Regions from separate parts of the Homo sapiens genome. Here region 1 is linked to region 2. Evidence: promoter capture Hi-C in 16 types of primary human blood cells and fetal thymus (Javierre and others, 2016). All regions are on one chromosome and are shown on one strand. The core of a region is centred on a gene start or on the middle of the fragment in contact, and the rest is flanking DNA. Distances in the headings are between cores, read along the strand shown.

Region 1 (4,618 bases), core at 210-2,709, 530 kb before region 2:
AATGAGCCTCTCTGGGATGCAGGCGTCTTACTTCAAACCCTCCTGTGATTGTGTGGGCTAAAGAGATCAGGAGACAGAGAGTAGTAGAAAACCTGAGACAGAGAAAAGAAGAATGAGAAAGACCCATAACAGATGGCAAAGTAGAGGATGGGTGAGGGATTTGCCAAGAGACAGCAAAAGTGAAAAAAAAAAGATAAGAAAGCAGGAGGAGAAAAGCAACTGGAGAAATGTAGAGAAAAGCTAGATGTACAGAGAGATGAAGGACAGACAGCAAGGTAGAGAGGGGCAGCAAAGAGGGAGGCTCATCAGAGTGAGAGAGAGAGAGAGAGAGAGGAGGAATTTGGAGCCAGGGCAGACAGAGCAGAGTGGTGCTGGTGGCAAGGAGAACAGAGGGAGAACCACAGCAGGGAGGACGCCTGGGGATCTGGGGTGCTAGAGAGTGGGGACGGGGGGTAAAACAGAGAAGAGAGAATTTAACAGGGAGAGCGGCAGAGATGCAGAGATGGGATAAGAGGCGGAAATATATGGAGATTGAGGACGATCGAAGAATTGGGGAGAAGGAGCAACAAGAGATTAAATAAGACGTGAGGATGGAGCCCAGGTAATTTTTGTATTTTTAGTAGAGACGGGGTTTCACCATGTTGGCCAGGCTGGTCTCGAACTCCTGACCTCAGGTGATCCACCCGCCTCGACCTCCCAAAGTGTTGGAATTACAGGCGTGAGCCACCGCACCTGGCCACCCAAGCATTCTTGATTGAAAAAGTTTGCTTATGTCTTAGTTCTACAGCTGACCCTCTTTCCCTGCTTTTTGTTTGTTTGTTTGCTTGTTTGTTTTGAGATGCACTTTCGCTCTTGTTGCCCAGGCTGGAGTGCAATGGTGTGATCTTGGGTCACCGCAACCCTTTTTGGTTTTTTTTTTGAGACGGAGTTTCGCTCTTGTTGCCCGTGCTGGAGTGCAATGGTGCGATCTCGGCTCACTGCAACCTCCACCTCCCGAGTTCAAGCGAGTCTCCTGCCTCAGCCTCCCTAGTAGCTGGGATTACAGGCATGTGCCACCACACCAGGCTAATTTTGTATTTTTAGTAGAGATGGGGTTTCTCCATATTGGTCAGGTTGGTCTTGAACTCCTGACCTCAGGTGATCTGCCCACCTCGGCTTCCCAAAGTGCTGGGATTATAGGCATGAGCCACCGAGCCCGGCCTACTCACCACCACCTTTACCTCCCGGTTTTAAGCGATTGTCCTGCCTCGGCCTTCCTGAGTAGCTGGAATTACAGGCAAGTGCCACAACATCTAGATAATTTTTGTATTTTTAGTAGAGATGGGGTTTCTCCATGTTGGTCAGGATGGTCTCGAACTCCCGACATCAGGTGATCCGCCTGCCTCGGCCTCCCAAAGTGCTGGGATTACAGGTGTGAGCCACCGCACTCAGCCTCCCTGTTTTGAAGGTAACTAGCTGTGTCTTTGTACATCTGCATTTTATAAATGTTACTGTAATTTTCTTGTGAGGAAGAATTAAATGTTGGGAATCAGTGGCATCAGAACTTGCAAAGGAAGTTTCTTTATCCCAGGTATGTGAAAGAGGCTTCTCTAATTTTCAAGGATAGTTTTGATAAGGCCAACCCTTTCCTTTATCCCTTCCAGGCCACCATGTAAGAATTCCGTTACATCTTTTCACTCATCTCAGACCTTCTCAGCGTGACTCGGTGAAAATGTCCCCGTTCTGAGGATGTCACAGCTAAATCTAAAGCAGATCATGTCAGTCCCTGGCAGGGAACCCTCCATGGGCTTCCTGTGTTCCCCAGGACAAAAGCCCAACTCCTCACTGTCACTCCACAGCCCTGTGTCCAGGGCCCCTGCCACTGTCCAGGCTCCTCCTGGGAACTTGCCCTCATCTCATGACTCCCTCTGCCCCAGTCACATTTGCTTTTCTCTTTTCCCAAACATCAAAACCCTTCCCGTCTCAGGTCATTTTCACTGCTCTTACCCTATTTCTCTAAATGCTCACAGCACTGTCCCTTTCTCCTTCAGGTCCTGGCTCAGAAATGTCTCCCATGCCCTCCCACCCCCAACTGAATTTCCCTCTGCCCATCAGTCTCTATCACATTACTCAGGTTTTATTATCTCTGTGTCAGTCACATCAGAAACACACTTTTTTTCTTTTTCCAAAGAGTCTCGCTCTGTCCTCCAGGCTGTGAGTGCAGTCTTGTGATCTTGGCTCACTGCAACCTTTGTCTCCTGAGTTCAAGCAATTCTTGTGCCTTAGTCTCCCAAGTAGCTGAGATTACAGGTGTGTGCCACCATACTCTGCTAATTTTTGTATTTGTATTTTATTTTATTTTTGAGTCTTACTCTGTTGCCCTGGCTGGAGTCCAGTGGTGCGATCTTGGCTCACTGCAACCTCCACCTTCCAGGTTCAAGCGATCCTCCAACCTCAGCCTCCCGAGTAGCTGGGCTTACCAATGCCCACCAAGCCCAGCTACTTTTTGTATTTTTAGTAGATATGGGGTTTCACCATGTTGGCCAGGCTGCTGTTGAACTCCTGAACTTGAGTAATCCTCCCACCTCAGCCTTCCAGAGTGCTAGTATTACAGGCATGAACCACCGCACCCAGCCCCAATTTTTGTGTTTTTAGTACAGACAGGTTTTCACCATGGTGGCCAGGCTGGTCTCAAACTCCTGAGCTCTACTGATCCTCCCCCTCAGCTTCCTAAGTAGCTGGGACCAGAGACACACAGACGTGCACCACCATACCTGGCTAAGTTTTTGTATTTTTGGTAGAGATGGGGTTTCACCATGTTGCCCAGGCTGGTCTCAAACTCCTGAGCTCAAGCGATGTACCCACCTTGGCTTCCCAGAGCGGTGGGATGACAGGCATGAGCCACCGCACCGAGCCTCTGCATGGGATTTGGTCAGGGCTGGGTCTGTGCCCTGAAAGGGAGCTCATTCCAGCCCAGCTCCCCACTGCTGCAGCGTGTGAGGGCTTCTCCAGGAGGGAAGCGAGAGTTTTCTTATAGAAATTTATTATCCCTGGTGCAGTGGGCAGCAGAGGTGACCATATTTTTTCAGAGTGAGGGCACCTTTGTATGTGTCATTGTGTTACAGGCAGGAGGTGTGTTGATTCTGAGCAGTAAACAACATATTTCTAACATTCAGGATTGACTTCTAAAGACTTGGTACGTGAGGAAAAAACACGGAAGAGGAAGAGGAAAGCAAAGGAGTCAGGGATGGCTCTTCTTCAGGTGAGATGATATTCTCGGGGGATTGTTCTGTCTCCTTCCTTTCAGAAATGCTGATCTTGGAGTTGGGAATCTTCTCTGAGTCTCAAGTGTCCTGCCTGACAGGTTTGCTCACACTCAACTCATGCCTTCCCTCAGTCCCTGTCATCTCACTTAGATTCCATCTCTTGTGACTGAGTGACATGAACTTGGGAAGAGGCTGCACTGGGCATGGTCCTGGGAAGGGCTCACACCCAGACATGTATGGAGATGGGGTGAGGGTCCCGCAGTGTCAGTGCTGTTGGGCAGCAGGGATTGTTCAGGGGCCACATCTGGATGCACTGTCAACTCTCTGTGGACCAGGATTAGAGCAGCTGCCAATGGAAGTGACCTATTAATGTGCACAAAGTACGTGGTAAATTCTAGAAAAGGAGACCAATAAGGGAAAATCTTTTCTCCCTAATTTTATACCACATTTTTAGGTAATTGAGTGAGTTACTGTGTTTCTGACTCAAAAAATTGTACTAATTAGAATGGAAAGTTCATAAACAGACATGAATGATACAGGGGTTTTATTCCATCCTTATTTAAAGAATATGAAATCAACCTAAATAATAGCAGGAGATTTATTAAACCATTCTTAGCAAATTAAGCTGATGGAGACAGTGGTGTTACTGTGGAGAGGCTTTTGAAACAGGTGTTTTTTGTAAAAATGGTTACAATTTTTCTCAAATATGGGAGCAGTACTTGCAGCTGCCAAATTATCCTTTTCCACCAAGATGAGATTCCTCTTCAGTTAAACAAAATTTGCATATATATATATATTTGTGTTTGTTTGTTTGTTTTTTCGAGACGGAGTCTCGCTCTGTTGCCCAGGCTGTAGTGCAGTGGCACGATCTCCGCTCACTGGAAGCTCCGCCTCCCAGGTTTACACCATTCTCCTGCCTCAGCCTCCTGAGTAGCTGGGACTACAGGCACCCCCCACCACGCCCGGATAATTTTTGTATTTTTTAGTAGAGACGGGGTTTCACCGTGTTAGCCAGGATGGTCTCGATCTCCTGACCTTGTGATCCACCCGCCTCAGCCCCCCAAAGTGCTGGGATTACAGGCATGAGCCACTGTGCCTGGCCTACTTTTTGTATTTTTAAAACCTTTATATATATACACACAACCCCATACATATACACACACATATATACATACACATACATATATACACACACACATATGTATATATTTTGAAAATCTGAGACAAATGACAACACTTTGTATTAACGTGGTTTTTTGTGAGTGTGTGTAGGTTTTATTTTTTTTTTAACATATACAAAATAGAATTTTGTACTTCGATTAATTTTATTTTCATGTATTTTATTTTATTTTGAGAGAGAGTCTTGCTTTGTT
Region 2 (4,331 bases), core at 1,033-3,532:
CGTGGTGGCACACACCTGTAATCCCAGCTAGTTGGAAGGCTGAGGCAGGAGAATCACTTGAACCCAGGAGACAGAGGTTGCAGTGAGCTGAGATCACGCCACTGCCCTCCAGCCTGGGTGAAAGAGCGAGACTGTCTCAAAAATAAATAAATAAATAAATAAAAATGAATAAAGTTACCTACTGACTACCAAAGAGTATTTCCAATATATGATAAAGAGTAGAAAGCATGCAGACCTCAATCTGAACTCAACACAATTAACTTCAAATGGAAACCATTTTGAAAATATATATATTATTTAATATGTATATGATATATTAACTATATATGGAATTCTACAAAGGGAAAAAATTGAAAATATATCACATTTAGAAAAGAATGACATGAGCCAATACAGGATTCCACAAAAGCTTACTTCAGCAATAATTACATATAGAAAAAGAGACTGAATTAGATAAGCTTCATCTCAACCTTCAGCATGAACTGTGAGATGAAAGGTAAATACAAGGCACCAGGCAGTGACACAGCCAGTCACTCCTTGCCTCTCTTCACTGCCCCCACCCTACCCCATCCTCGGAAACAGGAAGAGGGAGACCCATAACTGAATGAGGCAAGTCACTGCCCAATGGCTAAACAGCATGGGCAAATGAAAGCTAGCCTCTTATGCCATAATTGTAAAATGCACAAGCCTTTTACACAGAGCTTTGTAATTCTCATCCTTATATGTAGAATTTAAACAATTAGATTACAATTTAAATGTAACACATTATAAATAGAGAAATCAAATTGTCATATCCAATCTCAACTCACCTCTCACCTGGCCCCAGGGCGCCCCTCTTTCTTTATAACTATGTGTTCCTCTCCCCCATTTTGTGCCTCTCACTTTCACCTTGTCTCTCCAGCCTTTTTCCCCTTTTATCTTCCCCCTAGGATTCTGACGATGTTGTGCCTCTTTTTTCTTCTGCTGTTTCTCCCTTCTTTGTTTTTTCCCCTTATATCTGTTCTACTCCATTCTTCCAATTTGTTTCACCTCTTGTGGCGTTTTCTTTCCAATCTTTTCATCGTCCCAATCTCCATCTATTTCTGCCTCTTTCTTACCCCATCTCCGCGCCTCCTCTGCTCTCCCTGTTAAATCCCCTCTTCCCTGTTACACCCGCTTATCCCCACTCTCTGGCACTCCCAGATCCCAGGCCTCCCTGTGTTGTGGTGCTCCCTCTGCTCGCCTTGTCACCAGCTGTCCCCTCCAGCTGTCCCAGCACCACGCAGCTCTGTCTGCCCTCGGCCAAATCCTTTCTCCTCTCCCCCACTCTCTGTCTGAGGAGGCTCCTTCTTTGCTGTCCCTCTCCTTATCTTGTTGTCCTGCATCTCGGGACATCGAGCTTTTCTCTACATTTCGCCAATTGCTTTTCTGCCCCTGCTACTTTCTTGACTGCTTCTTTCACTCTGTCGCTGCAAATCTCTCACCCATCCTCCACTTTGCCATCTGTTTATGGGTCTCCCTCATTTTTCTTTTCTCTTTCTTGGTTTTTCCATCTCCTCTCAGTGGCTCTTTGTCTCTCTTTCTCCTGATTCCCTTGGGCCACACATTCACTGGAGGGTTTGTAGTAAGATGTCTGCATGTTGGAGGAGTACATTTTCCAGGGGGTGGAGCTGGGCAGGCAAAAACACCGGGTGTCACAGGACGGGCCCCGGGCACCTCCCCAACGAGGGCTCAAGGGAAGCGGTGACTGCGAAGGGGAGGCCTGGGGAGCAGCAGGGCCCGGCACGAGGAGGAGGGAGGTGGGGGGCGACGGCGCCTTAGGACAGGGGTGGGATGTGCAGGATCCCAGGACCAGGCGGAGGCGCGGCCTCCCCGGGACTGGGTCGGCGGCGCTGCGCTCCAGGGGCCGACGAGAGCGAGGCTGGGAGGCGCCCAGGGCAGGCGGTGAGGACTTTAAGCGATGCGGGGCGGGAGGAGGAGTCAGTAAAGGATTTTAAGCAGGAAAATCCTGCTTAAACGTTTAAAAAACCGGGAAAGGCCGTGTTTACTTGGCCCAAGGCAGAAAGACCGGGGGCAGGGACCAGCCTCAGGGCGACTTTAACCCAAAAGGAAGCGTCTCCGGGCCCACACAGCAAGGCCTATTTACCTGAGGTGGAGGGTGCGGTGCGGAGATTTTAAGTCCGTAGCGACCCCCGGGCATCGGGTGTGCGAATGGGGGACGGCGAGGCGCAGGTTGAGTCTACACAGAGGAACACTCATACGCCATGGTGTGATGCTTGCTCCGCACGATCCACTTCCGGGTCTGTGGGCAACTGCGCGAAGGAAAGCGACCGAGCGGCCCGGGGCGGGGTCCGAGATGGGCGGAACCGGAAAAGGGCGGGGCGTTGAGAGAGCCGGGCTGAAGCAGGGGCCGCCAGGCAGGGACCCCAGGGAAGGAACGGGGAGGAGCCACCGGGGAGGGGTGGGGAGTGACCAAGTGGAGGGACCCGGGGGCGGGCCGGGGAGGAGCCGCCGGGGAAGGGCGGGGAGGAACCGCGGGAAGGGACCGCGGGGGAGGAAGGCGAAGGGACCGCGGGGGAGGGAGGCAGAGGGACCGCCAGGAAGGGACCCGGGGGAGAGGCGGGGCTGGACGGGACACGTTAGGGTCTGCGATTTCGTGTGATGCCCACAGCCCAGCGCCCAGAGCCATCTGTAGTGTCTTGTGGAACGGCGTAGATGTTTCAAACGGTTTCAAGTTAAAAGCACAGTTGTGTAGGTTATTTTGGAAACCAAACTGCTTTCCTCTTAGAATGGAGGCGGTTTATGTTGAAAGCATTTTTTGCTAGCGCGTTTACCCAGTAATGTTATTGACGCTGAAGCAGCCCAGGAGTCTGGGAACATGGGTTGACACGGAGCGGTGATGGCATGCTGGAAAAGTTTCTGCGATTAAAATTAAGTAATTTAAAAGCCCTGAAATTAGCAGTAACTTTTAAAAAATAGATATAAATTGCATTGTCCTTTTTTATACTTACTATTCTATTCCGTGCGAGATGACAACCTCAAACGCCTATACTTTTTTTTTTTTTTTTTGAGCCGGAGTCACGCTCTGTCGTCCAGGCTGGGGTGCAGTGGCATGATCTCTGCTCACTGCAACCTCGGCCTCCCGGGTTCAAGCAATGCTCCTGCCTCAGCCTCCCGAGTAGCTAGGATTACAGGCGCCCGCCACCACGTTCTTTAGCGGAGATGAAGTTTCACCATGTTGCCTAGGCTGGTCTCGAATTCCTGACCTCAAGTGATCCACCCGCCTCAGCCTCCCAAAGTGCTGGGATTACAGGCGTGAGCCACCATACCTGGCCCCAGGAACTACTTTCACCTACTGAATATATATTAAGTCCTTTGCCACAAAAAGATAATATACATAATTTATCTCAGAACAATTAAGATATTTACCACTGTAAATGACAAATTCAGACTTAGAGAAGGAAGATTTTATTCAAAAGGACTATTGCAATAGAGAGAATGTTCCAATCACAAGATCTGAAAATGTCCAAGAGACACAAACTAAAAAGCTTTTTTTTCTTTTTTTCATATATGGAGGAGTAAACAAGGCTAGAAAGCACAAGCACAAGTTATGAGGCTGTGGATGAGCACTTGGCATGACTACAGTTATTCAGGGAAAGTTTGTTATGTTATGTTATGTTATGTTAAAAATGTTACATATTTCTTGGAGAGAGTCTTGCTCTGTCACCCAGGCTGGAGTGCAGTGGCGTCATCTCTGCTCACTGCAACTTTTCATCTACCAGGCTCAGGCAATCCTCCCACCTCAATCTCCCCAGTAGCTGGGACTACAAGCACACGTCACCATGCCTAGTTAATTTTTGTACTTTTTGTAGAGACGGGGTTTCGCCATGTTGCTCAGGCTAGACTCGAACTCCTGAGCTCGAGGGATCCCCCACACCTTGGCCTCCCAAAGTGCTGGGATCACAGGCGTGAGCCACCGTGCCCGGTCTATTTATTTTTTGAGAGAGCATCTTGCTCTGTTGCCCAGGCTAGAGTGCAGTGTCAAGACCATAGCTCACTGCAGCCTTCAACTCTGGAATCAAGTGATCCTCCTACCTCAGTCTCCCAAGTGGCTGGGACTACGGGTTTGCACCGCCACACTCCACTAATTTTTTTACTTTTTGCAAAGGCGGATTCTCACTATGTTGCCCAGGCAAGTCTTGAACTTCTAGCCTCAACTGATCCTCCCGCCCTGATCTCCCAAAGTGTTGGGATTACAAATGTGAGCCTGGCTCATCATGGAATTCAAGACCAGTTTGGGCAACATAGCAAGACTCCCATCTCTACAGAAAATTTTTAAAAATTAGCTGGGC

What was found. The method cuts DNA at HindIII sites, captures the fragments that hold promoters and counts their contacts. A CHiCAGO score of 5 or more calls a contact.
Region 1: a contact is called between a fragment that was not itself captured here and the fragment with the promoter of ZNF160 in region 2, in 1 of 17 cell types (neutrophils). The highest score is 6.3, in neutrophils.

The regions. Positions count from the first base shown.
Region 1 is chr19:52,570,922-52,575,539 of GRCh38, forward strand. It overlaps ZNF701 (zinc finger protein 701), which reads left to right. Exons shown (of 4, transcript NM_018260.3): 2 at 3,156-3,241. The coding sequence starts at 3,227. Among named protein-coding and RNA genes, the nearest start is that of ZNF701, 2.9 kb to the left of the region's middle. RefSeq lists an enhancer at 1-403. The HindIII fragment of the contact is 7,533 bases long and covers 1-4,618 here.
Region 2 is chr19:53,101,140-53,105,470 of GRCh38, forward strand. It overlaps ZNF160 (zinc finger protein 160), which reads right to left and starts at 2,283. Exons shown (of 6, transcript NM_001322131.2): 1 at 2,126-2,283. RefSeq lists a silencer at 2,326-2,735. The HindIII fragment of the contact is 3,069 bases long and covers 457-3,525 here.